Regions from separate parts of the Homo sapiens genome. Here regions 2, 3 and 4 are each linked to region 1. The links are contacts of gene promoters, found by promoter capture Hi-C in blood cells and fetal thymus (Javierre and others, 2016). All regions are on one chromosome and are shown on one strand. The core of a region is centred on a gene start or on the middle of the fragment in contact, and the rest is flanking DNA. Distances in the headings are between cores, read along the strand shown.

The links. The method cuts DNA at HindIII sites, captures the fragments that hold promoters and counts their contacts. A CHiCAGO score of 5 or more calls a contact.
Region 2: a contact is called between the fragment with the promoter of TMEM238 here and a fragment that was not itself captured in region 1, in 10 of 17 cell types (total CD4 T cells, naive CD4 T cells, activated CD4 T cells and 7 more). The highest score is 11.1, in total CD4 T cells.
Region 3: a contact is called between the fragment with the promoter of COX6B2 here and a fragment that was not itself captured in region 1, in 1 of 17 cell types (fetal thymus). The highest score is 6.4, in fetal thymus.
Region 4: the fragment with the promoter of SBK2 here is called in contact with a fragment that was not itself captured in region 1 in 1 of 17 cell types (naive CD4 T cells); the score reaches 5.6 in naive CD4 T cells.

Annotation. Positions count from the first base shown.
Region 1 is chr19:55,077,966-55,084,338 of GRCh38, forward strand. It overlaps EPS8L1 (EPS8 signaling adaptor L1), which reads left to right. Exons shown (of 20, transcript NM_133180.3): 3 at 123-163; 4 at 1,034-1,092; 5 at 1,725-1,886; 6 at 2,164-2,313; 7 at 2,807-2,889; 8 at 3,266-3,527; 9 at 3,808-3,934; 10 at 4,127-4,215; 11 at 4,310-4,384; 12 at 4,489-4,637; 13 at 5,413-5,554; 14 at 5,651-5,679. Among named protein-coding and RNA genes, the nearest start is that of EPS8L1, 5.3 kb to the left of the region's middle. RefSeq lists an enhancer at 2,332-3,289. The HindIII fragment of the contact is 9,126 bases long and covers 1-6,348 here.
Region 2 is chr19:55,379,036-55,385,541 of GRCh38, forward strand. It overlaps TMEM238 (transmembrane protein 238), which reads right to left and starts at 5,257. Exons shown (of 2, transcript NM_001190764.2): 1 at 4,687-5,257; 2 at 209-332. The coding sequence starts at 5,224. The coding sequence ends at 4,694. RefSeq lists enhancers at 260-760, 4,857-5,819, 5,773-5,842, 5,873-5,942 and silencers at 4,763-4,852, 5,143-5,482. The HindIII fragment of the contact is 6,498 bases long and covers 1,926-6,506 here.
Region 3 is chr19:55,349,258-55,356,331 of GRCh38, forward strand. It overlaps COX6B2 (cytochrome c oxidase subunit 6B2), which reads right to left and starts at 5,462. Exons shown (of 5, transcript NM_144613.5): 1 at 5,393-5,462; 2 at 5,153-5,282; 3 at 4,609-4,709; 4 at 4,350-4,517; 5 at 447-1,543. The coding sequence starts at 5,264. The coding sequence ends at 4,464. GARIN5B (golgi associated RAB2 interactor family member 5B) reads right to left here. Exons shown (of 11, transcript NM_001145402.2): 10 at 6,003-6,088; 11 at 5,651-5,838. The coding sequence ends at 6,043. RefSeq lists silencers at 4,777-4,886, 4,997-5,046. The HindIII fragment of the contact is 2,438 bases long and covers 3,228-5,665 here.
Region 4 is chr19:55,532,588-55,539,506 of GRCh38, forward strand. It overlaps SBK2 (SH3 domain binding kinase family member 2), which reads right to left and starts at 4,546. Exons shown (of 4, transcript NM_001370096.2): 1 at 4,467-4,546; 2 at 3,455-3,709. The coding sequence starts at 3,707. RefSeq lists a silencer at 5,155-5,449. The HindIII fragment of the contact is 39,425 bases long and covers 1-6,919 here.

The DNA of each region.
Region 1 (6,373 bases), core at 536-3,035:
AATAATAACCCTTCCATCGCTCCCCATTACCTTCGTCATGAAGCCCTTGCTGCCCTGCTTGGCATTTCCACAGGATCTGCCCCCAGTCCCACAGTCTCTCTCATTCCTCTTTTCTTCACCAGCCCAGAAGCTGCCCCAAAGCCAAGCGCCAAGTCTATCTATGGTGAGCGGGGGGCAAGGGAGCCCCAGGCCCATAGAACTGGGTCTAAAGAAACAGGACCTGGCATCCAGGGTCTTGGAGGAGGAGGGGCTGGGGGTCTGGACTCCTGAGTCAGAGGGAAGAGGTGCTGGGGGTCTGGACTCCTGGGTCAGAGGGAAGAGGGGCTGGGGGGCTGGACTCCTAGGTTTGAGGGAGGAGGGGCTGGGGGCCTGGACTCCTGAGTCAGAGGGAAGAGGTGCTGGGGGCCTGGACTCCTGGGTCAGAGGGAAGAGGGGCTGGGGGGCTGGACTCCTGGGTCAGAGGGAAGAGGGGCTGGGGGGCTGGACTCCTGGGTCAGAGGGAAGAGGGGCTGGGGGGCTGGACTCCTGGGTCAGAGGGAAGAGGGGCTGGGGGGCTGGACTCCTGGGTCAGAGGGAAGAGGGGCTGGGGGGCTGGACTCCTGGGTCAGAGGGAAGAGGGGCTGGGGGTCTGGACTCCTGAGTCAGAGGGAAGAGGGGCTGGGGGGCTGGACTCCTGGGTCAGAGGGAAGAGGGGCTGGGGGCCTGGACTCCTGGGTCAGAGGGAAGAGGGGCTGGGGGCCTGGACTCCTGGGTCAGAGGGAAGAGGGGCTGGGGGTCTGGACTCCTGGGTCAGAGGGAGGAGGGGCTGGGGGGCTGGACTCCTGGGTCAGAGGGAAGAGGGGCTGGGGGCCTGGACTCCTGGGTTTGAGGGAGGAGGGGCTGGGGGCCTGGACTCCTGGGTCAGAGGGAAGAGGGGCTGGGGGGCTGGACTCCTAGGTTTGAGGGAGGAGGGGCTGGGGGCCTGGACTCCTGGGTCTGATGGAGGAGGGGCTGGGCCTGGACTCCCAGGCTCATTCTCTTTCTCCCCTGGCAGAGCAGAGGAAGCGTTACTCCACAGTTGTTATGGCTGATGTATCCCAGTACCCAGTCAATGTGAGTCTGGGGTCTGTGTTCCCCCAGGACATCTTCTGGGGCAAAGGTGGCCTCAGGAGATAGGGCTTTTGAAAGCAGCTAGGCCCCCAAGCAGGAAGCATGTGGAAAGTCAGTTTGCCCATCCATAAAATGGACCTCCGTTGCCTCACCTCAGTCATGGATATGAAGCCAGGGGCCTCGGGTCCACTTAATCTGCCAGCCTTTCCTCCAGGCCAGCTGTTGTGCTGGACAGTGGGACCACGGAGGCAAATCAAGACACAGCCCTGCATGAGGAAGGGGTAGACAAGGTCCAGAGGAATCCACAGAGGCGCCTGGTGCTCTAATGGAGGTGGCAGGGGGCATGGCAGGAGACCCGAGGAGGCATTTAGAAGGAGAGAGCTATAATCCAGACTCCTTCCCTGCCCGCAAGGAGCCTCCAGTCTGTGAGAAGCCAGACTCAGGTGCTAGTCACTCTGATGAAAGGGAAACAAAGGGCACTGGGAGGAGGAGCTGATTTGTGGAACAGGTGATCAAGGAAGGCTTCCTGGAGGAGGTGTGGTTAGTCTCAGGCTGAAAGTCTGATTATTCTGGGGGATTCTGAGCCCACCTGGCATCATCTTGGGCCTCACTGCTTTCTCCATGGTCCGTACCAGCACCTGGTGACGTTCTGCCTGGGTGAGGACGATGGCGTGCATACCGTGGAGGATGCCTCCAGGAAGTTGGCCGTCATGGATAGCCAGGGCCGAGTCTGGGCACAGGAGATGCTGCTGCGAGTGTCTCCCGACCATGTCACGCTGCTCGACCCGGCCTCCAAGGTGCCGGGGGGCACGTGGGTGGGAGGAGTGTCTGGGGCAGGGACTTCAGGGGGTCTGGGTGTGAATCTTGGCTCCTGCACGTCCTTCCTCTGGGAACTCTGGCGAGGGACCCCAGCCCCCTTCTTGAGCCTTAATAGCCTCATCTATTAAACAGGGCTGTTATCCCTAACCCCCTAACCGCCTGAGGTTGCCCTGACCTGCTGGCCCACACTCCCGTCGCCATTTAGTAGTACCATCATTTCGGGGCCTCAGTTTACCCCGCCATCCCACCCGGCAGGAGGAGCTGGAGTCGTACCCACTGGGCGCCATCGTGCGCTGTGACGCGGTGATGCCACCCGGCAGGAGCCGCTCGTTGCTGCTGCTCGTGTGCCAGGAACCCGAGCGCGCGCAGCCCGACGTGCACTTCTTCCAGGGCCTGCGCCTCGGGGTGAGCAGATGGGCTGGCTCTGGGGGTGGAGCTGGAACTGGGCGGAGCCTGGAGCCGGGGCGGAAATGGGTGGGGCCTCTAGGTGGGGCGGGGCCTGGGGCTAAGGCGGGATCAGAGCAAGGAAGGGCAGGGGACCTGGGAAGGAAGTTCTGGAAGGCAGTGGGGTTTGAGATTGGACCCAGGGTCAAGATAGAACATGAAGGTGGGATGAGGACATGAACAGAACATGGCCAAGAAGGATCTGGGGGAGCAGCCAGGACGAGGTGGGGGCGAGGAACCACCCGGACTGGGTCTCCATGGGCGGGGTCGTGGCTTAGGGCAGGGACAGGTGTAGGGCGAGGGGTGAGTTCGGGGCGTGGACGTGCGTGGGTTCACAGGTGTGAACGGTAGCCGCACGTGGGCTGGGACTGAGCTGAAAAATCGGCCAGGGGCGAGGCCCGGGTAGGAAGTGGGTGCGGCGTGGGGAGGCGTGGCCTGACGGTGTGATTGGCAGGCGGAGCTGATCCGAGAGGACATCCAGGGGGCTCTGCACAATTACCGCTCGGGCCGCGGGGAGCGCAGGGCGGCGGCGCTCAGGTGAGAGGGAAGAAGTTGGCAGGGTCTCTGGGAAGCCGGTTTCCCCTCCTTGTGCCTCAGTCTACAACACCAGCCTGGAACAGAACAAGAGTTTTGCATGGAGTCAAGCACACCCTAGTCGAGTCTTGTCTGTACCTCCCAGACGAGCTGACCCCTTCTCCAGAACTCTGCTTCTTTTCTCTGTTCCCTGTCCAGGCCCTCAGTTTCACTCTAGAGAGGTGCTATCCCTCCGTATATCGGATTTCTCCCTACCTCGTTGAACTTGTTCACTCCCTTTGAGCCTTTTGAGCCTGTGTGTCTCGTTCTGCGCCCTGGATTTCCCCCTCCCTGGACCCCTCAGTGGACCCAGTCTTGGTGTCCCCGTCGCCCTCCGCAGGGCCACGCAGGAGGAGTTGCAGCGCGACCGCTCGCCCGCCGCTGAGACCCCGCCCCTGCAGCGCCGCCCGTCAGTCCGCGCAGTGATCAGCACCGTAGAGCGGGGCGCGGGCCGCGGACGACCCCAGGCGAAGCCCATTCCCGAGGCAGAGGAGGCGCAGAGGCCTGAGCCGGTGGGGACCTCGAGCAACGCTGACTCGGCCTCCCCGGACCTGGGTCCCCGGGGTCCTGACCTGGCGGTTCTGCAGGCGGAGCGGGAAGTGGTGAGCCGCTAAGGAAGGGGTCTGGGGGCAGGGCCAGGCGACTGGAGGCGGGGCTAGGGCGTGGAAGGGCGGGGCCGGCTGCGGGACGGGCGTTCTCTGGTCAGACTTCTGCGTTATGGAAGAGGGGCTGGGTCGGGGGCGGGGCTTGGTTGTGGGGCGTGGCCAGGTGTTTGGGGCGTGGCCTGATCTGGGGAAGTGTATAGGTGCTCAGGTTCAGGGCTTCGACGGGGATGGTTTTGGAACTCGGGAGCCCTGAGCGTCCCCCTCCTCTGTCCCCTAGGACATCCTGAACCACGTGTTCGACGACGTAGAGAGCTTTGTATCGAGGCTGCAGAAGTCGGCGGAGGCGGCCAGGGTGCTGGAGCACCGGGAACGCGGCCGCAGGAGCCGGCGCCGGGCGGCTGGGGGTAAGGGGCACCCTGGCGTGGGATCTGAACCCCCTCCCGATCTCTTCCAAATGTCCCCGCTCTCCCCAGGCTCTCCCCTCCCGCCACTTGCCAGGGCTGACCTCACCGCCATCTTAACCGGGTGTCCACCTCTCTCTGCCTGCCTGGTGCTGGCCCCGCGTCCCCATCGCCGCGCCCGTCTGCTCCCCTCAGAGGGCTTGCTGACGCTGCGGGCCAAGCCGCCCTCGGAGGCCGAGTACACCGACGTGCTGCAGAAGATCAAGTACGCCTTCAGCCTGCTGGTGAGGACGCGCCCGCCCCTGGGCCGGGGCGCGGGCACGACGAACCTGTCCCGTCCCCGCACCCACGCCAACCACCTCCCTCCCCACGCCCCAGGCCCGGCTGCGCGGCAACATCGCCGACCCCTCCTCTCCGGAGCTGTTGCACTTCCTTTTCGGGCCTCTGCAGATGGTGAGACCCGCCCCAGGCCCTCGGGCCCCCCTGCAGCGGGAGGAATCGGGTTCGACTTGTAGAAGGTGTGGCGGCACAGCCTGCCCCTCCTGCTCCCCTGACAGATTGTGAACACGTCGGGGGGGCCGGAGTTCGCGAGCAGTGTGCGGCGGCCGCATCTGACATCGGATGCCGTGGCGCTGCTGCGGGACAACGTCACTCCACGTGAAAACGAGCTCTGGACCTCGCTGGGGGACTCGTGGACCCGCCCCGGGTGAGGGGCGGGGCTGGGAGGCAGGGGGCATGGTGATTGGAGGAGCATAAGGCGCTGGGAGGTGGGTGGCATGATGATTGGAAAATAGGACTAGGAGAGTAGGGAGGGGTTAGAGGCGTGGCTTAGTTGTGTTGGGGCGGGGCTTAGGACAGATGCCAAGATTCAATTGGAGGAAAGGCCAGGAATTAACGTGAAGGAAAGATTTAAGACCACCAGACCAATCGGATTGAAAGAAAAGGGGGGCTTAAAGGAATAGAGGGGCTAGGGGCTACGGGGCAGGGGCGGGGCTACGCGAAGGGGCGGGGCTTCTGGAAGGTTTGGTCTATAACTTTGGTGATGGGACAGAGTCTGTGCACTGCGGGCTGGCAGTTCCGCAGGGAAAGGGTCAGAACCTGAAACCGACCTTACGGAAAACCTGATTTGGAATCAGGTGAGATTTAGAGGCTGGATAAGGCAATTTTTTTCCAGAGAGAGAGATGGATGGGGTCTCAATATTTTGCCCAGGCTGGTCTGGAACTCCTGGCCTCAAGCGATCCTCCCATCTTGGCCTCCCAAAATGCTGGGATTACAGGCGTGAGCCACCGTGCCCGGTCTAGAAATATAAATTGCTGTTGAGTTGGGCTTAGAGCTACCGGCAGGACTTGGTGAAAAGTGGCGGGGCTAGAATCGTTGGAATACAGCGAGCTTTAGGGGAAAACTTAGTGAAGTTAATGCAGGAACGAAGTTGGGGGCTGTATCAGGATCCCTGAGCTCTTGGCCCTGTCCCTGGCCGCAGGCTGGAGCTGTCCCCGGAGGAGGGACCCCCATACAGACCCGAGTTCTTCAGCGGCTGGGAGCCGCCGGTCACTGACCCGCAGAGCCGCGCCTGGGAGGACCCAGTTGAGAAACAGCTACAGCACGAGCGGAGGCGCCGGCAGGTGACCCAAGCGACACAGCAGGGCCGAGGCTGGGAAGTCCGGGGGCGCGGCCGGTCCGCCTGGCCCCGCCTGACCCGACTGTCTTACTTCCTACAGCAAAGCGCCCCCCAGGTCGCTGTCAATGGGTGAGTGTCCGCCCCAGGGCAGGGCAAGGGGGTCAAGGAGGGGTGCGTCCCGGGGGCTCCCGATGCTGACTCCGCCCCCTTTTTTTCTGTGTTTTTCCTTCTGTCTTCCTGGCTCTTCTCAGGTGGGTGAGATGGTGATGGGGCGGGCCGGGGCTGGGAGAGAGGGAGGAGCAGGGTGGGAGGGGGCGGGACCCAGACTTCTGGGGCTAAGGGAGTTGGGAATGGAGACCCGGATTCCTGGGCCTAAGGGAGGAAGGGGGCTGGGAGTGGGTAAAGTCTGAGAGGTTGGATCCCTGGATCCCCAAAAGGCTGGAAGAAGCCAGTTTGTTTTCCCAGGGCCTGGGAAGCACCATGCCTGGGCTCCCTAGGAGGACAGAGCCCTGGATATTGGAGGGGAGAGGCTGGGGAATTGGACCTTTGGGTTTTGAAGAAGAGCCCAAGTCTGGTGCTTGGGATCCTGGAGACCCAGAGGAGCAGGCTTGGGACTTCAAGGGCTTGGGGGCAAGTTTCTGGGAAAGTTAGGAAGTGGTAGTATCTCTGGGCCCCCGAGAGGGGTAAAGGCTGGACGATTAAACTCTTGGTTTTCCAGAGGCTCTAATGCAATTGTCTAAGTCGCTGCTGGGTGTCGGACTGGGTTAAAAGGTTTGAGGGTTAAAAGGATAAGATTGAAGCTTGAGACCTGGACTCCTAGGTC
Region 2 (6,506 bases), core at 4,007-6,506, 300 kb after region 1:
CCTTATCCCCCGCCCCCTCTCTGGCCCCCTCTGAGAAGGGGCCAGCATAAGGCTAGGCTCCTATATCCCCAGGGCTCCTGGTCTCCCCAGGGCAGGGGCAGCCTCACCTCAGGTGTGGCCAGGCCCACCTGGGTGCTAGAAGGAAGCAAGCCACCTCGTCTCCATTCCCACCCCAGCAGGGTCCCTCTCCCAGACAGACATGCAGCACTAAGGCAAATCTGCTTTTTATCCAAGTGAGGAGGGAGGGGGTACAGGGAGCGTCCGTCTGGCCACGGATGTAGGGGCAGCTGCACATCTCAGTCTGGTCCTGACAGCTGGAGCCAAGGGGTTGTCTGCAGGAGGGAGGGTGGAGTGAGCGACTGCTCAGGAACCCCTCCCATCCCTGTTCCGGGCTCTCTGCCTGCGGGGGCAGAGGCAGGGAGCCCCATCCGCCTGCCCTTGCCGCTCACATGGACTCACACACTTGCTCCTTCATCCCTGCATGCCCCCATTTGCTGAGTGTGTGCATGCGTGTGTACCTTTAACGCCCTGAAATCCAAGGGTAGAGGCCAGGGAATGCGAGCCAGGGAGAGGCAGAAAGGGGGAGACGAAGACATGCAGAAGGGGAAAGGCAGAAGCACAGGGACAAAGAAAGAGACCTGGGAGACAGAGACACAGAGACAAAGAGTGAGAGAGAGGGAGACAGGCAGACACAGTGAAGACAGAAGGAGGCCGGGCATCGTGGTCCTCATCTCAGACCCTCACCCCAGCATTTTGGCTGCAGGCAGGAGGATCACTTGAGCCCAGGAGTTTGACACCAGCCTGGGTAACATAGGAAGACCCCGTCTCTGGTACCTGTAGTCCCAGTTCCTTGGGAGGCTGAGGTGGGAGGATTGCTTGAGCCCAGGAGGTGGAGGCTGCAGTGAGCTGTGATTGCACCACTGCTCTCCAGCCTGAACAACAGAGTGATGGGGGTGGCTCTGCCCGGCTACTCATGGTGGTCTCGGAGGTTGTGGGGGTACCAGAGCCAGAACCTGTGGGTCCCTCTGCTAAAATTCAGGTTCTCTGTCTTTCATGCGCTGGAAGCTGCTCACTCTCCCCAGTAAACAAGAGTCCTGGGTTTGAACAGGCCCATTTTCCTCTAAGTGGGGCCTACGTTCGAGTCAGTGTGGTCTGAGTCTTTGGTGGAGGCTCCAAGAGTGGAGGCCTGTGCAGCTGTGTTAGACGTTTAAGCTACGTAAAGGATTCTCCTCTCCTCCCCTCCCCTCCCCTCCCCCCTTCCCCCCTCCCCTCCCCCCTTGCCCGTCCCCTCCCCCTTCCCCCTTCCCCCTCCCCTCCCTTCCCCCCTTCCCTCCCTGCTTCCCCCTCCCCTCCCCCTTCCCCCCTCCTCCCCTCCCCTCCCCTCCTCTCCTCTCCTTTTCTTTTTTTGAGATGGAGTCTTGCTCTGTTGCCCAAGCTGGAGTGCAGTGGCACGATCTTGGTTCACTGCAACCTCCGCCTCCCAGATTCAAGTGATTCTCCTGCCTCAGCCTCCCTAGTAGCTGGGATTACAGGCGTCCGCCACCATGCCTGGCTAATTTTTGTATTTTTAGTAGAGACAGGGTTTCACCATGGTTGCCAGGTTGGTCTCGAACTCCTGACCTCAGGTGATCCACCCGCCTCGGCCTCCCAAAGTGCTGGGATTACAGGCATGAGCCACCATGCCCAACCTCATAAAGGATGTTCTTTTCTTTCTTTTTTTGAGACGGGTTCTCACTCTGTCACTCAGGCTGGAGTGCAGTGGCGTGATCTTGGCTCACTGCAGCCTTTGCCTCCCAGGTTCAAGCAAGCAATTCTCCCACCTCGGCCTCCCAAAGTGCTGGGATTACAGGCATGAGCCACTGTGCTCAGCCAGGATTTCCAAAGGTAACAGTAACTACAGGTGCTTATGTTTGCATTCTATGCCAAGCTTCATGTTAGCTTACGCTTCACCCGTGCAAGCAGATGTTCATGCTTTCTTACCCCAGTTCCTTCACTGAATCACGGCACGTAGCATATGATTGGGGTGACTATTTCCCCAAATCTCACAAAGAATAATATATAACTGGTAGCATTCTGGATGCATAGGAGAAAAGTTAATTCCAGCCGGGCACGGTGGTTCACGCCTGTAATCCCAGCACTTTGGGTGGCCGAGGTGGGCGGATCACCCGAGATCGGGAGTTTGAGACCAGCCTGACCAACATGGAGAAACCCCGTCTCTACTAAAAATACAAAATTAGCCAGGTGTGGGGGTGCATGCCTGTAATCCCAGCTACTCGGGAAGCTGAGGCAAGAGAATTGCTTGAACGCGGGAGGCAGAGGTTGCAGTGAGCCGAGATTGCGCCACTGCACTCCAGCCTGGACAACAAGAGTGTAACTCCATCTCAAAAAAAAAAAAAAAAAAAAAAAAAGTTAATTATTTACCTACATAGAACGTCCTAGGATAATAGGGTTTAATTCTTTTACCAAAACCCTATTTGAGAGATGAATTCAGTCACCCAACCATCCATGTGCCATTAAATGCATTCATCCACTCATCTGTGTACTTATCATTCAGCCCCAACCATCTATTCAACTACCCATTCACCCATCTACCTATCTATCCAGAGAGCGCACAGAGGCTGGGCAAACTCTGACTGTCCTATGGATAGTCCTATGGACCAGCCGAGGCCCCTGCCCCAAGGAGTTCCCAGGTGTAACCGCAAGTTAAGGTGCCCTGGGGAGGTGACACAGGCACCCTCATTTCTTTTGTTCAGTAGGAGTCTCTGAGGCCTCCCCAGTACCATGCTGCATGGGTGAGGCCGAGGACACAGAGAAGTATCAGGAAAAGCTCTTGCCCCTTTATCAGGCAGGGCTCCCTCTCCAACCATATCCATTCATGGTTCATTGCCCAATTCACCACCTACCCATATCTACCCATTAAACAACCCATCCATCCGTCAATCCAACCACATCCCTGCATCAACCAACCCATGTATTCACCCATCCACCCACCCACCCATCTGTCCATTCACCCGTCCATCCACCCATCCATCTACCCATCCACCTATCCAACCACCCACCCATCTATGCATTCACCCATCCATCCATCAAACAACTCATCCATCCACGCACCCATCGATCTACCCATCCACCCACCCACCCATCTATCAATCTATCATCCATTCACCCATGCATCCATCAACCAACTCATCCATCCATCCACCCATCCATCTACCCATCCACCCATCCAGCCATCCGTTCTTCCATCCATCCTTCCACTTCCCTACCCAACCATCAACCTTTCCTGATTTCACACTTTTTGCTGGGCAATGCTAGGAACAAGGACGCTAGGGACCTAGGTCTTACCCTCAAGGCACTCCCTGTCAGGTGGGAGAGACAGTAACAACATAGACACAGCACATGGCCATATAAGCAGCAAGAGGGGTCGCTCAGACAATATGAAGACCCAGAGAAGACCCAGAGAAATTAAGTTAAATCTTAAACATGTGAGAAGTTTTCTGGGTGGAGTGGAGACAGCCAAGGGCACTCCTGGTGTAGAGAAGAGCAGGAACAGGGACCAACTGGCTATCTGTGGACTAAGAGACACCATTAGTGCAGAGAGGCAGGAGAAATGGGGCCAAAATATGGGGGGTCCACAGGCCAGTGAGTGCTTCAGTTTAACCAAAGGTGAAGAGGGAGCCACAGCAGGTCTTTGAGCAGAGGCAGGCTAGCTGGAAAGGTGTGTTTAGGAAAGAGATAGAAGGTAGAGGGGAAAGGGGAGTGAATGTGTGGTGGCTTCATTTCTCCTGCTGTTGGTCCTTCTTACTCCTCCTTTTCTAGGCCTACAGGTCAGGAAAATCCCAGCTCCTCCTTTCCTAGGCCTACAGGTCAGGAGAATCCCAGCTCCTCTTTTCCTAGGCCTACAGGTCAGGAGAATCCCAGCTCCTCCACCTACGTGTTGTGTGGCCTTGGGCAAATGTGGCGCCTTTCTGCGCTTCAGTTTCCTCCACTGCAGAATGGGGATGGTAATAGTAGTGACCTTGGAGACCAGTTACATGGAGAGGATTAAATGGGGCCTGGTCTGGGCTCAGTGGCTCACGCCTGTAATCCCAGCACTTTGGGAGGCTGAGGAGAGCAAATCGCATGAGCTCAGGAGGTGGGGACCAACCTGGCCCACATGGCAAAACCCCGTCTCTACTAAATATACAAAAATTAGCCCGGCAAGGTGGGGCGCACATGTATTCTCAGCTACTTGGGAGGCTCAGGTGGGAGGACTGCTTGAGCCTAGGAGGTCGAGGCTGCTGTGAGCTGAGATCACGCCACTGCACTCCAGCCTGGGTGACAGTGAGAGATCCTGTCTCAAAACAACCCCAAACGACAACAAAACAAAACAAAACAAAAAATGGGGCCTGGTGTACCTGGAAGCTGGGGCTCTCCCCGTGCGGGGGGCCTAACTGTGTGACTCGACCCCCACACTTCCCATCTCCAGGGGCAGGGTCTCACAGCCTCCCCCACGTATGCACCTGTGCTTGCTGTGTCTGCGGTTCTCCGCCAGAGCCTTCCCGTCCCTGTCTCCACCCCGCCCTGGGACTCTACCTCCCCATGGCCGCTCTCTGTCTCCATCTGTCCATCGCTCCCCCGTCTGTCTCCATTCCCGTCCCTCCCTCGGTCCCTCCGTCTCCCCGCCCTGCCCCGCCCGCCCCTCACCTGGGCCTCACTCGCTGCCCGCGCCCGCCGCCCCGGGCCCGGCCTCGAGCGTGGCGAGCTGCAGGCGCACGCGGCGGGAGCCGGCGGCGGGCGGCGGGGGCGCGCGGGCGGCTCGGCGCGCTCTCCGGGAGCCGGGCGCGGGGCGCTGGCCCGCGGCGGCGGGCGCCGACCAGCGGCGGGAGAGCTTGCGCGCCAGGCGGGCGAGCGCCGAGGGCCGCAGGCCGTAGTCGCGCTCCAGCTCCTGGCGCGAGATCTCGATGTTGCCGGTGTACCAGAGGATCCAGCCCAGCAGGCTCAGGAACACCAGCAGCGCGCCCGAGTAGATGAGCAGGTCCCCGAAGTCGCGGCCGCGCACCTGCAGCTGCGCGAACACGCCGGTCAGCAGCGCCGCCATGCCCGCCACATCCAGCGCCACGGCCAGCAGCAGCGCCATCCGGCAGCGGCCCAGGCCGGCCGCGGGTGCTGGCGCGGCCGCCGGCGCGGACGGTGCACCCGGCGGGCTCCCCTGCGAGGCGCACACCGCTGGCGCCGCCGCCATGGCCCTGCACCGCCGCCGCTGGCGCCCAGAGAGAGCGTTCCGGGGTGCGGCCCGGTCCGGGGCGGGGTCAGGGGACGGCGCCAGGTGTGCCAAGCTCCCGCCTGGTCACCTGAACCGGGCTGGGCGCGAACCGGCGCGGCCGGGGTTACCCTGGTCGTGGTTTCCGTGCAGGGGCTATTGCTCAGAGGCCTGAGCTGGTGGTAGCCAGGCGCACAGCCACGGGTGCCTAGGGCCCGTGCCACCCAGGGAGGTCACATATGGCCAAAAATCAGGGCATTTTAGTGGTGGCAGCATGGGACACTCGGAGCCGGGCGTGGCGTTGTTTCTGCTCAGTGTCCGCCTCCCGAAGCCTGTGCAGATCAGACAGTGCAGATCAGACAAGGCCTTTAGACACCAAGGAGCTCTGGGACGCGAGAACCAGTAGTCGGGGTGATCTAAGAGGGGAAGCTCCGGGTTCCGCGGAAGCTGAGTTTCCTTCACTCAGCGCGTGTCTTCTGGGGTCTCCTGTGTTCAGCGAATGAAGCCACGGGCACAAGGACGGACGAGACCCATCAGGTCCAGAGCGCACCCGTGGAGGAAGCTGGGCGAACCCCGACTGTCCTATGGAGGATAGTCCTATGGACCAGACGAAGCCCCTGCCCCAAGGAGTGCCCGGGTGTAACCGCAAGTTAAGGAGCCCTGGGGAGGTGACACAGGCACCCTCATTCCTTTTGTTCAGTAGGAGTCTCTGAGGCCTCCCCAGCACCATGCCGCGTGGGTGAGGCCGAGGACACAGAGAAATATCAGGCAAGGCTCCTGCCCCCTTAGGGTGGCCCTGACAACGGATCATAACCTCCCAGGGAGCTGATGGGGTGTGACAGGCACACCATAGGCTGGAGGCACAGGTGGAGGGCAGGGAAGAGGACCGGCAAATCTATAGAATCCTAAAGGGAGCCAAGAGAAGCCACATGCAAATCTCCCTCCCTCCAAACAATTCTCCCTTAGAGGGCATCCGCGCTCCCCTGGGGTGGCAGTCAGCGAGAAGTTTCCGTGTAGGTTCTCCCCAGGCTTAAACAGTTTAAGAGTTTTATTTCAAGAAAACCCTGGGGAGGGCGAACTGCAAGAGGGCTGCCAGGATTAGCCGAGGGATTCCGAATGAAGACGGAGTATTTCCGAACATACACACCTCTCCCAAGAGCGTTTCCGGAGGGTTCCGAAAATACCCGAGCGGGCCTCGGCGCCCTCATTGGCCATCACCGCGAGGGCTTACGAAGACCGGAAATATCCAAAGGTGCCGGGGCTA
Region 3 (7,074 bases), core at 4,212-6,711, 270 kb after region 1:
TGAAGCCATGCTGTTCGTTTCTTTCCTTTTTTTTTTTTTTTTTTTTTTGAGACAGGGTCTGTGGCCCAGGCTGGAGTGCAGTGGCGCCATCTCGGCTCACTGCAACCTCCACCTCCTGGATTGAAGCAATTCTCCTGCCTCAGCCTCCTGAGTAGCTGGGACCATAGGCACACGCCACCCCGTCAAACTAATTTTAAAATCTTTTTGTAGCAATTGTGTCTCACTGTGTTGCTAAGGCTAGTCTCGAACTCCTGAGCTCAAGCGATCCTCCTGCCTCTGCCTCCCAAAGTGCTAGGATGACAGGTGTGAGCCACCGCGCCCGGCCTTTTGTTTCTGAAATTCAGGTGCTGTTGCCACAGCTCTTAGACAAAGAGGGCAGCGGAGCAGGGAGTCTCAGCTGAGGACTCATGGGTGGACATTGGAATTTCCAGGAACCTTCTGAAATCTTTTAAATGTTGAGAGTATATATTTACATGCACATTTTTTATAGGGGGTTCAGAGCGTTCATCACATTCTCACAAGTTTCTGTATCCGCCTCTCCTCTGCCCCCACCCCACCCCCAACAAAAAGGGCTAAAAACTAGTGGTGAGCCGGGTGCAGTGGCTCACGCCTGTAATCCCAGCACTTTGGGAGGCTGAGGTGGGCAGATTGCCTGAGGTCAGGAGTTTGAGACCAGCCTGACCAACACGGAGAAACCCCGTCTCTACTAAAAATACAAAATAAGCTGGGCGTGGTGGTGCATGCCTGTAATCCCAGCTACTCGGGAGGCTGAGGCAGGAGAATCACTTGAACCCGGGAGGCAGAGGTTGCAGTGAGCTGAGATCGCATCATTGTACTCCAGCCTGGGTGACAGGAGCGAAACTCTGTCTCAAAAAAAATAAAAATAAAAATAAAAATGGTGAGGGCGTTAGAAACTGGCGATCAGGGTTTCCTGGCCTCCGCACTGCTGCCATGCTGAGCTGGTGTTTCTAGGCAGGGCCTGTCCCATGCATTGCAGGATGTTGAGCGGCTTCTCTGGTCTCCACCCACTCGATGCCAGGAGCATGCCTCTGCCCCAACCAAAAATGTCTCCAGACCTTGCCTGATGTCCCCATGGCGGCCAAAGTCAGCTTCTGGCTTGAGCTGGGCAGCACCGGGTGGTGGGGGAGGGGAGACACCAGGCCCATAGTGACCGACCATTCCCTGTCCTTGTCGCAGCATGGAGGGTCAGGACAGCCTTAGGGACGTGGGCGCTCTCAGTCATCTCGCCCATACAGACAGGAGCTGGCTGGGGAGGGCAGGTGTGTCTGCTTGGCGTCCCTCAGCTGCAGGGGACCCTGGCTTCCACGAAGTTGGAGGCGTTCATGCTGGCACTTCCCAGCTGGCAGGACCTGGGGGACATCCTGGTGGAGCAGGGGCCTGGGGTCATGAGTTCACCAAGGTAGCTCAAGGACAGGAAGAAACGGTGGTGGCAGAGGGTCCTCTGGTCGAAGCCTGGGCCTGAGAACCCCATCATACACGTGGAGACCAGAGCAAGGGAAACAAGGAACTCGAAGGCTGGTGGCTGTAGGTGAAGGTGGAAAGAAGTTTAGTGAAACAGGAAATACAACCAGCACTGACCTGGGTGTGTGGCACTAGAACTGCTCTCAGCCTTTGGCAGGCAGGCAGGGCCCTGGCCAAGGACTCCCCACCCTGACCCCGTGTCTCCCTGTGGGGGCACTCTGGCCCTTTATGCTGCAAGCTAGTAACCAGATGCCTCCAAGAGCTCCAGGACTGGTTTATGGGGTCATCCCTGGGCTGTCTGTCCGGTCAATCAGTCTCACTGTCCAGCACAATATGGGGCACCAGAACTGGGCCGACATGCTGATTCGAGTGACTCAGATTGTCTCTATGGCTAGAGACCCCACACACTGTGAAGAGGGGGGCCAGACACTGTTCTAACTGCTTTATATGTTTTCACATCGCCGTCCTCCCCACAACCCTAGGAAGTGAGGTGTCATTATTATGTCATTGTTACCATATTTCAGATGAAAAGGCCACAGCGCAGAGGGGCTAGGGAACTTGTCCCAGGCCACATGGTTAGTAGCTTCAGGGCCTAGATTGAACTCATTCTCAGAACCATTCGGGCTCTGCCACCTTCAGGATGGGAAAGGGGGAAACCCAGAGAGAGGAGGCGAAGCTGCGGCCCCTAGGAGCCAGGGGACAGTGAGCAGGGGAGGCAGCGCAGGTGGCCTTCAGGATCCGTGGTCTGGAGGCCGGGAGGACGGAGCAGGTTCTGAGGGAAGAACCGCAGAGGGAGGGGAAAGTGGATGATGGAAGGATTGAAGAGATGGGGCTGGAGGAGGAGAAAGAAGAGGAAAAGGAGTAGAGAAAGAAGGCGGGAGGAGGATGTTGAGCGAACAAGGATGCAGGTGTTCTGGGTGGGGGCAGGAATAAGTAGAGTGGCCTTGGTTTTCTCTGACCTGGGAGGTTGCTGAGACTGTGAGGCTGGCATTAGGGGTCTCAGGAGGCGGCTACTGGACACCAGGGAAAGCCAGCCAGAGCACCTGGAGGAGGTGTTCGGAGTTTGCACAGGTGATGGTCCACCAGGCTGGAGGCCAGGCCGGGCAGGTCTGCCCCTGCCCCTGGCTCAGGCATCAGTGGGGCAGTGGCGGCTGCAGAGGGGGTCGGGAGTGTGAGAATGTGCTGAGATGAGGTCTGGAGGCAGTGAAGATAGGATGATGGGAGGAGGAGGAAGGAGGAAGGCTGGCCAACAGGGCAAAAATGGGTTCTAGACACGGCTCTGGGGAGGTCAGGAGGCTGCTGTGGCTGCACAGGTGTGGCACCCTGTGCTTGGGATGTTACCTGGGTGACCTCACCAACTTAGCTCCATTCTGTGACTCAGAGAGGGGTCCTGCCCCCGTGGTTCTGCCAGCGCCTCTGTGCATTCGTCAAGGCTCTGGGGACGTTGCATGAACAGGAAGCCCTCCTGTAGTTGAGTCCACACCCTGTGCCCTCACCCCATTCTTGGGTTGTGGTCAGAGACGGAGCCAGGAGACCAAGATCTCAGAGGTGGCGTCATCCTGGGGGATGGCTCATCTAGGGTGTGTCCTGGGCAGCATGGAGGGCAGGTGATGGACAGGTCATCATGGGGCAGGGAGCAGGATGGAGTCAGCCCCCTGAGCTCACCCAGCCCTACCTCCTCTGATAATGGGGCCCTGAGCCATCTTGGTTTGCCTTGGGGAACCTCGGGCTCACACAGGTCAAGAAGCTTGTCTAGGGTCACCCTGCAAGTTGTCATGATTAGTTGTAGTCACCTTTGAACCCTGGGGTTGAACAGGGCCTCATAGGACCGCTTCAGTCAGAGGATGGGGCTTCCCCCTCCTAGGAGCCCCTCTGGAAGGCTGATAGCTCAGGGAGTACCCGTTGGGAAAACCAGCACCCCAGGCTGACTGGTCTCACGGCTCCCTCAGCAGGACCAGGCTGGAACCCTAGGGCTTTGTCAAGCGGCACTCCTTGGCCTGGGGAGAGGCAAGACTTCAAAGGGCGTCTGGAACCGGAATGCGGTTCCGTGTTACTGCCGGGATGGGGAAGGAGTAAAGAATGATTCCGAGGGAGCTCTGAGCGTCCTCTGGGTGCTGGCAGTCTGGCGGGGGTCACAGGAGAAATTGCGGCGATGTGTGCGGTGGGAGAGACTGACAGCGGCCTCTGCGGGGTGGGGGTGCGGGGTGAGCCTGATGCATTGGAGAACTGAGCAGGCTGCTACGCCTGGCTGTGGGTGCGGGTGCCGAAAGCGTGGACACCAGGGGATTCTGTTGGAAATAAGCTGGCTCACATGATGGGGATCTCGATGTTCTGGGAGGGGAAATGAGCCAGGTGGGAGCGGGGTCGTGATGGAGAGTGGTGGAGAGCCCAGAGAGTGGGGGAGGAAGGGATGGAGTCAGCGCTGGGTGGTACAAAGAAGACCCCTCAGGACCCGAGATGGGATGGATCAGGGGTGGGATGGGGAAGGAGCCTGGGGAGATGGTCCAGGCAGGAGGGGAGTAGGGAAAGGACTGAGGTGAGAGGTAGGTGTGGTGATTGGAGGCAGGAGCACCTTGGAGCCATCTGGGTGGGACAGTGTTGAGAACTGGGGACCCTGGGCTGGCTCGTAGCTGTCAACGCGAGGCATCTACCTGCTGGAATGGAGAGGGAGAAGGGGGACGGGAGGCATTCGGCTTCCTGTCTTAGGGCCTTGACTGCCTGCTGCTACCTGATGGAGCAGCAGTCCCCCACCTGCCCCTTATCGGAAAAAGCAGCGTTAGCCCGGACACAGGCACACGGAGGATCCCCACCACCACCACGACGCATCGCTGGCTGGGCATTAAGAAGAAACATCAGCAACAGCATACCATTATTCGTGGCTTAGACACTGGGAGGTAGGGGTGGATAACCGAGACCCGGGGCTCCGCGAGACAAAAAGATGCAGGATCACTGCATCTTCAGAGGAAGCCGCGCTGGGGCAGTCAGATTTTGCCGGCGAAAATCCCGTTCTTGATCTGCTCGTTCCAGCTCTCCACCTGGGAAGCAGAAAGGCAGGGAGCGGGACGCCGGCTCAGCCTCGGCCGAGCCCTGCACACGCCTGGCCCGGCGCCCCCTCTGCCGACTCACCCAGCTGATGGGGCACAGCGAGTGGTACACGCGGAAATAGTACTCGCAGGGCTGCGTGCTCTTCCCGCGGCGGGTCCTGGTCTTGAGGCAGCGGTGGTAGTCTGTGGCGGGCGGGGGTCACGCGGCAAGCCACGCCCATTCCAGGACAGGACCCGCCCCTCCACTGCTCGGGCCCTCCCAGTTCTTCGCTGCTTCGTCCCGCCTCCCTCTCCCCTGGAGGCCTCCGTCCCGCCCCTCCCAGCCAGGCCCCGACCCCTACCTCCCTCACACTGCTCCTCCTACCCAGACCCTGCCCCTACCTACCTCGCCCCGCACCTTCACGACTCGGCCCCGCACCTTCCAGATCAGGCCTCGCCCCTACCAACCTCGCCCCGCCCCTCCAGGCTCAGCCCCGCCTTTTCTCGACCAGGCCCCGCCCCCACCAACCCGGCCCCGCCCGGCCTCCCACCCTAACGGTCTCCGCGGGACTTAGGGTGGGAGTGCCCCTCCCTGCCGTCCCTTGTCACACCCTGCTCCTCCCATAACCTGGCTGAGCAGGTCTCACCCAGGAAGTTCTGGTAGCAGTTACGGATCTGGTTCTGGCTGGGGAAGCGCGGGTCGAAGGGCGGCGTCGACCATTTCCCCTTGGGGGGCTCCTGGGCTTCCACATCCAACATCCACGAAGGAGGCAACTCCTGCGAGACGGGACGGGACGGGGACTCCGTGGGGCCGAGGGGGCGCCCTCGCTCCGACCCGTCTCCCCATCCTGACCCCCGCCCCTGAACCCCACCCGTCGTGCCCTCACCAGCCTGACGTTGGCGGCCACTGGATCTGCTGTGGGATGGTCCCGGGGTGCCGCTCGCTTCTGAGTCCGCGGGGTGCGGTCCCACCCGGGTCAGGAGAAACGCACCCCGCGGCCGGATTGGCTAGGACGCCCGAGCCCCAGCCAATGGGAGCCGTCGTGCACCGCGGGGCTGGTAGGGGCGCCCCCACCCCACCCCTTGCTCCCCCGACGCCCCCTCGGGGGCCTGCGCGTGCACACAGGCACCGAGGTGCGACTCGCTGAGTCTCAGGCTCAAGCTTTAATCTCTGCGAAGTTGGGCGGCTCCACGGGCTCGCCCCCGCCCCCCCCCGCCCCCCAATATATAAAGGCATATCCATAGTTCTGGTATCTACCAGAGGGGGCAAATCCCCCCAAGCGGCTTTCAACATTCCGCTTCCTACAGTCGGTGCGCACAGAACCCTCGGGGCCTGTGGGGTTAAGAGGAAAGAGCAGCGGTGGGGTCCGGGCTCCTGGGAACCCCCCCGCCCCCCTCGTCCTCCCCCCTCCGTTACCCGCCCCCCCCACCCTCCTCCCTCGCCCCCCTCCCCCCGCCCCCAGGTCTAAGGCAGATCTCCAGGGTCTTAAAGGGTACCTGGCAGCGCTGGGCTCCTCTGGACAGTTTCCAACTGAGGTTAAGCCCCCGCATCCGGCCACTCGGAGTGCTGGGAGTGCTGCAGGCTGCAGGGAGAAAGCAAGCCAGAGAGAGCTTTGGGGGACAGGGTAGGGAGAGAGGGGTACCCAGGGCTTTAAGAGCTGCAGATGCCTGGCTTAGGAGAGCGTCCCCCAGGGCGGGTCTTGCTGTGTGTTTGGCTCACTGTTGTATCTGCCTGGGGCAGAGTCTGGCAGTAGTAAATGCACAATAAATCCGAGGCGGAATCAATGAGTCTTGGCTCTAGGGGCAGACAAGTAACTGGAATCTGGGCAGGTGGTTTCACCTCTAGATCCCTGCTAAGCTTCTCTCCCTCCTGCCTGGTTAATATCAGGCCTGACTCAGGATTGTTTACACTGACAGCCAAATGTACGAATTAAGAATCCCGGCCAGGTGCGGTGGCTCATGCCTGTAATCCTAGCATTTTGTGGGGCAGAGGCGGGAGGATTGCTTGAGTCCAGGAGTCTGAGACTAGCCTGGACAACATGGTGAAACCCCATCTCTACAAAAAATACCAAAATTAGCCAGGCGTGTTGGTGCGTGCCTGTGGTTCCAGCTACTGAGGAGGCTGAGGCAGGAGAATCACCTGAGCCTGGGTAGCTTGAGGCTGCAGTGAGCTGTGATGGCATCACTGCACTTCAGTCTGGGCAACATGTGAGACCTCTTTTCTACAAAAAAATCAAAAACTTGGCTGGGCTTTTGGAGGCTGAGGCAGGAGGATCACTTGAGCCCAGGAAGATAAAGGCTGCCATGAGCCACGATCACACCGCTGCACTCTAGCCTGGCAATAGAGCTCACCCCTGTAATCCCAGCACTTTGGGAAGCCGGATGGATCACCTGAGGTCAGGAGTTTGAGACTAGCCTGGCCAACATGGCGAAACCCCATCTCTAAAAAAAAAAAAGAAAAGAAAAGAAACAGGGTGTCACTCTATTGCCCAGGCTGCAGTGCAGTGGCACGATGGTGGGTCACTGCAGCCTCGACTTCCCAGTTCAACCAGTCCTCACATCTCAGCCT
Region 4 (6,919 bases), core at 3,296-5,795, 460 kb after region 1:
CACTACACCCGCCCTTTTTTTTTTTTTTTTTAAGACAGGGTCTTTCTCTGTCGTCCAGGCTGGAGTGCAGCAGCACAATCATGGCTCACTGCAACCTCCGCCTCCCGGGCTCAAGCGATTCTCCTGCCCAAGCTCCCTGAGTAGCTGGGACTACAGTTGTGCACCGCCACTGGGCTAATTGCACACCAAGCTGATTTTTTTCCCTGACACCAGAAATTCCTGCTAACTGGCTAAGTTTTTTAAAAAAAATTTGTAGAGACGGTCTCGCTATGTTGCCCAGGCTGGTCTCAAACTCCTAGGCTCTAAGCAATCCTCCTGCCTTGGCCTCCCAAAGTGCTGGGATTACAGGTGTGAGCCACCATGCCCGGCTTGGTTTCTTTGATTTCTGAGCCATCAGCTGCCAGGGTGCAACCTTCCCCCTCACAAGGCCGTGTGTAACTGGGATAAATTCCCTCCTTATTGGCCCAGCGCAGTGGCTGATGCCTATAATCCCAGCACTTTGGGAAGCCAAGGTGGGCGGATCACTTGAGGTCAGGAGTTCGAGATCAGCCTGGCAAACATGGCGAAACCCCATCTCTACTAAAAAATACAAAAATTAGCCGGTGTGGTTGCACATGCCTGTAATCCCAGCTACTCGGAAGGCTGAGGCAGGAGAATTGCTTGAACCCAGGAGGCGGAGGTTGTAGTGAGCCAAGATTGTACCACTCCACTCACTGCAGCCTGGGTGACAGAGCAAGACTCCATCTTCAAAAAAGAAAAAAAAGGAAAAGAAAAGAAAGGCCGAGTGCAGTGGCTCACACCTGTAATCCCAGCACTTTGGGAGGCCCAGGTGGGTGGATCACTTGAGGTCAGGAGTTCAAGACCAGCGTGGCCAAAATGGTGAAATCCCATCTCTAGTAAAAATACAAAAATCAGCCAGGTGTGGTGGTGCATGCCTTGCCTGTAGTCCCAGCTATTCGGGAGGCTGAGGCAGGAGAATGGCGTGAACCCGGGAGGCGGAGCTTGCAGTGAGCTGAGATTGCGCCACTGCAGTCCACAGTCCGGCCTGGGCGACAGAGCGAGACTCCGTCTCAAAAAAAAAAAAAAAAAAAAAAAAAAAAAAAAAAAAAAAGAAAAAGTTCCTTCCTTATCAAAAACACCAGCCATCCCCGCCCACTCTGCAGCCAGATGCAGTGGGGTCTCTTCTGCGTGTTCACAGCGCTCCTGATCACTGCCGCCACGGCCACGCCACCCGGTGTTGGCGATCCCTGCCCATCTATGCTCCCCACGGTGCCCTGAGCTTCTTAACGACAGTGACATGTTCAGGGCCCCAGCATCATGCAGCCCAGGGGCAGGTGTGCTGGAGGCCTCCAGATACAGGTTCAGTGAAATGGCCATGGAGGGGCCTCATTGGCAATGCCCCCGCCTGTTACTGCTCATGCCTCCGGCTTTGTGAGCACCCAGGGCTGGATCTCTGCATCCGTGGCTCTTCCTGAGGTGTGCTGTTGTGTGGCTGTGTTATTGCCCTCTGTGTTATTACTGAATTGTGTATCCCCAAAACTCGTATGTGGGAGTCCTAACCCCCCCAGTGCTGAATGTGGCTGTATTTGGAGATGGGGTCTTTAAAGAGGTAAAATGAGGTCACTAGAGTGGGCAGGCCCTCATCCAATGTGACTGGTGTCCTTATAAGAAGAGGAGATCAGGACACAGACACACACAGAGGGACGACCATGTGAGGACACAGGGAGAAGACGGCCAAATGCAAGCCAAGGAGAGAGGCCTCAGGAGAACCAACCCTGCTGACATCTTGATCTCGGGCTTCCAGCCTCCAAAGCTGTGAGGAAACAGAGCTCTGTTGTTGGCCAGGCACGGTGGCGCACACCTGTAATCCCAGCACTTTGGGAGGCTGAGGCAGGAGGACCACTTGAGGCCAGTTTGAGACCAGCCTGGGCAACACAGTGAGACCCCATCTTAAAAAAAACATTTAAAAATTAGCCGGGCATGGTGGCATGCGCCTGTAGTCTCAGCTACTTGCAGAGCTGAGGTGGGAGGATCCCTTGAGCCCAGGAGGTCAAAGCTGCAGTGAGCTATGATTGTGCCACTGCACTCCAGCCTGGACAACAGCGAGACCCTGTCTCAAAAAAAAAAAAAAAAGAAAAAAAAAGAAAAGAAAAAAGGCCAGGCACAGTGGCTCACACCTGTAATCCCAGCATTTTGGGAGGCTGAGGCAGGAGGATCACTTGAAATAAGGAGTTCAAGACTAGCCTGGCTAACATGGTGAAACCCCATCTCTACTAAAAATACAAAAATGAGCTGGGCATGGTGGCATGCACCTGTAATCCCAGCTACTCGGGGGGCTGAGGCACAAGAATCACTTGAACTTGGAAAGCGGAGGTTGCAGTGAGCTGAGATTGTGCTACTGCACTCCAGCCTGGGCAACAGAGCGAGACTCCATTTCAAAAAAAAAAAAGAAAGAAAAAAGTCAAAAGTTCTGTTGTGGAAGCGCCTGCCTTTGTTATGGCAGCCCCAGCAGATGAATGCACACTTTTTCTGCATTCATGCTAGGAGATTTTTGAAGGCAGGGACTGGCTCTGGTTCAATTCTGGGTCCACTGCCCGCCCAACCCCCCCAGCACAGGGCTGGCCTCAGAAGGCGTGCCCTGAACTGACTGACCTCAGGTTGCCTCCCTATTTTCCGTTTCATGGAAGGACACGGTGCTTGGCAGAAAGGCCCAGGGTAGTGGGGAGCTGTCCTGCGCACCCACTGTGTGCCGGCCTTGCTAAGTGCTTAGCAGACAGCATCACTCTGCATCATCCCACGGTGACCACTACAGCCGCCACAGGAGGCTCCTGAGCTGGGAGCTCTGTCTTACCCAGCATTATACAACCCCAGCAACTAGAGCAGTCCACATTCACTCAGAGGATCCACCATTCTTCCAAGTAGAAATCATCACCCACATTTTCCAAAGGAGGAAGCTGAGACTCAGAGAGGGCAAGGGAGTTCCTCAAAACACAGTTTTTGGCAGGGCACCGTGGCTCATGCCTGTAATCCCAGCAATTGGGAGGCTGAGGCAGGCGGATCACTGGAGGCCAGGAGTACGAGACCACCCTGGCCAACAGAGTGAAACCTCATCTCTACTAAGAAAGAAAAATACACACACACACAAATGTAGCTGGGTGTGGTAGTGCATGCCTATAGTCCTAGCTACATGGGAGGCTGAGGCAGGAGGAACACTTGAACCTGGGAGGTGGAAGTTGCAGTGAGATTGTGCCACTGCACTCCAGCCTGGGCGGCAGAGCCAGACTGTCTCAAAAACAACCAACCAACCAAAAGAACAAAAAACAAAAAACACACAGCTTTGGAGGGCAGAGGTAAGACTTGATTCAGGCCTGCCAGCCTCCCCAGCCTGGGCTACCCCAGGCCCGTGCCCCGCCCCCAGCTGAACCCTGCCACCTCTGGCCCCACAGCCTCGTACCTTTCTGACGATGGGTGACCAGAAGGACGCGGCCATAGCAACCCTGGCCCAGGGGACGCACTTCCTCGTAGAGCTCGTCCACCTCGGCTCGGACCAGGGTCTGAGCACTCAGCGTCATCATGTCCTCCAGCGCGCGGGCAGCCTCCTGGCCCTGCTGGAGCTCCTCTAATGTCAGGCCGCCCAGACCCTCCTCCTCGCTGTCCTCCGAAGCCCCTGCCTCCGCCGGCCCTTCCTCAGACTGTTTGCCGGGCATCTCTGCGAGAACAGAGAGGGGTGCCCAGGCTCAGGTCCCAGGCCCAAGGGAGGAGGGGACTGGGGGTCTGGACTCCTGGGTCTGAGGGAGGAGGGGCTGGGGGCTCATCGCGCTTCTCATTGTGACTCAGTCTCCCTCTTGGTGAGAGGTGGGGAGACAAGTCTGGTGTGAGTTCAAGCCCCAGGTCACAGATGTCCCTGCCCGCGTGCCGCCGCCGCCACCCGCCCACCCTGAGGTTGAAAGATGAACCAGATAACTGAGACTCCCCCATCTTGTTTCCAAAGCAAACAGACTTGGGCCCTGGGGGTGGATGAGTAGACTCTGTCTCCTGAGAACAAACAGGTGCTCTTGGGCTCAGGGCTGGGAGGGCGGGCTGTGCAGAGGGCCTGGGACGCCTGGGTCCTGCATGGGACCGAGCACTTGGGATCAGTCCCCAAGCTCCTGACAGGCCTGGGGTCCCACTTTCACAGCCCACCCACCTCCCTCCGACCCAGCCCCCCAGCCCCTCCTCCGCCAGGCCCAGGGGTCCAGGCCCCCAGCCCACCTCTCTCCCGGAACCTCATACAATTCACACAACTGGGGACCCCCTGATTCTGTTTCCCTCACCCTCCACCGCTCTACAGCCTCCAGGTGCAGCCCAGGCTCCCCTGAGGGACCGAGGACTCGGGCCACCTGGTACAGTCACCCTCAGGTGCTGCCCACCTCAGGCCAGGGCACCTTGCCCACCTCCCAACCTGGGCTCAGACCTCCAGACCTCACCTCCTCCAAGGCCCTCCTGACCCTCCGGCCGCCGGCTGTGGTCAGTGCCCGGCACTTAGGGCTCATGCCAGCAGAGGCCTGCCTAGGAGCAAGACCCCGCCCCGACTTTGGGGGTCGTAAGGCCCCGCCCCTGGGCCCGCCCCTTCTGCCCCCACTGGGAGCAGAGCGACATCGTGTGATGACTCCTGGAACTGGCTGTGGTCAGGTGAATACCCTGACCCAAGAGTTGAGCCCTCCTCCTTCAGACCCAGGAGTCCAGGCCCCAGCCCCTCCTCCTCCCTCAGACTCAGGAGTCCAGGCCCCCAGCGCCTCCTCCCTCAGACCCAGGAATCCAGTCTCCCAGTGCCTCCTCCCTCAGACCCAGGAGTCCAGGCCCCAGCCCCTCCTCCCTCAGACCCAGGAGTCCAGGCCCCCAGCTCTTCTTCCCTCAGACCCAGGAATCCAGGCCCCCAGCTTTCCCTCCCTCAGACCCAGGAATCCAGTCCCCCAGTGCCTCCTCCCTCAGACCCAGGAGTCTAGACCCCAGCCCCTCCTCCCTCAGACCCAGGAGTCTAGGTCTCCAGCCCCTCCTCCCTCAGACCCAGGAATTCAGGTCTCCAGCCCCTCCTCCCTCAGACCTAGGAGTCCAGACCCCCAGCCCCTCCTCCCTCAGACCCAGGAGTCCAGGCCCCAGCCCCTCCTCCCTCAGACCCAGGAGTCCAGGCCCCAGTCCCTCCTCCCTCAGACCCAGGAGTCCAGGCCTCAGCCTCCCCCACCCATCTGAAGTTTTCCGGCAGAACTGAGGCCTCCCCACCCCCTCAAGGCCTCTCTTCCCAGTTGCTCCAGCACCTGCTTCCCGCCCCTCTGAGTCTGAGGTCATCCCACACTGCATCGTTCTGGAATCTCATTGTCTCATTCTTTCCCCAAACTAGACCCCAGCATCTGATCCCCTGGACACCCCTCTCCAAGCACTTGTGTCTGACCTGTCAATGGGGCATTGATGGGGCAGCTGGGTGGGGTCAAGGCAGGGGTGGGTTCCAGAAATGATTTCATTTTCTACACGGGACCCGGACTCCTGGGCCTGATGGAGGAGGGGGTTGAGGACCTGGACTCCTAGGTCTGAGGGAGGAGGGGGTTGAGGACCCGGACTCCTGGGCCTGAGGGTGGAGGGGGTTGAGGACCTGGACTCCTGGGCCTGAGGGAGGAGGGGGTTGAGGACCTGGACTCCTGGGTCTGAGGGAGGAGGGCCTGAGGGCTCCTGATTCCAAAGAGAGGAATAACAATAAAAATAGTTTGAAAGCGCATAACAGGAATACAGGCCAGTGAGTGCCTCCCTGCTGTAAGCACAGGGAGATTAAGCCCCACTAGGAAGTCCCCAAGCCTTGGGCCACAGTGGGACTTCAGACCCCTGTTTTTTTCTGGGACGGTTGCACCCACCCTTCAGGGTTTTTTATTTCTTTTTTTTTTTTTTTTTTTTGCTTTTTGAGACGGAATCTCGCTCTGTCACCCAGACTGGAGTGCAGTGACGTGATCTCGGCTCACTGCAACCTCCAACTCTCTGGTTCGAGTGATTCTCTTGCCTCAGCCTCCCGAGTAGCTGGAATTACGGGCATTTGCCACCACGCCTGGCTAATTTTTGTATGTTTTAGTAGAGACAGGGTTTCACCATGTTGGCCAGGATGGTCTTGATCTCCTGACCTGGTGATCCACCCGCCTCAGCCTCCCAAAGTGCTGGGATTACAGAGGTGAGCCACTGTGCCTGGGCTATTTTTATTTTTTTGAGACAGGGTCTTGCTCTGTTGCCCAGGCTGAGTGCAGTGGCCCAATCTCAGCTCACTGCAATCTCCACCTCCCAGGTTCAAGCGATTCTCATGCCTTGGCCTCCAGAGTAGCTGGGACTACAGGTGCCTGCCACCACTCCTGGATAATTCTTATATTTTTAGTAGAGACAGGGTTTTACCATGTTGGTCAGGCTGGCCTCGAACTCCTGACCTCAGGTGATCCACCCGCCTCAGCCTCCCAAAGTGCTGGGATTACAGCCATAAGCCACCGTGTCTGGCCCACCCTTCAGGTTTATACTGCCATGACTGATGTGAAGTCACTTCATTTTTTTAAATAAACTTTTTATTTTGGAATCATTTTAGGTTTATAAAATGGTTGCCAAGATCCTGCGGAGAGTTCCCATGCACCCTCCCCCAGCCTCCCCTGGTGTCGGCATCGCGATGCAAACCGTGAGACATTTGTCAAAACTACGAGGCTCACAGTTGGGCCAACACCAGACTGTTATTTCAGCAGCGCTTCCACGATGGATCGAGCCCAGGATGCCGTGTCGTATGTAGTGAGCTCACTTCCCAGCCTGGAAGCATACCTTCCTGCTTAGGAAACACAGTTTCCAGTTCTGGACCCTCCGCTGGGTGCTGGGGTCTTGGATTTGGATCTAGTTCATCCCCGTCCTGCAGGCGTGAACCTCCACA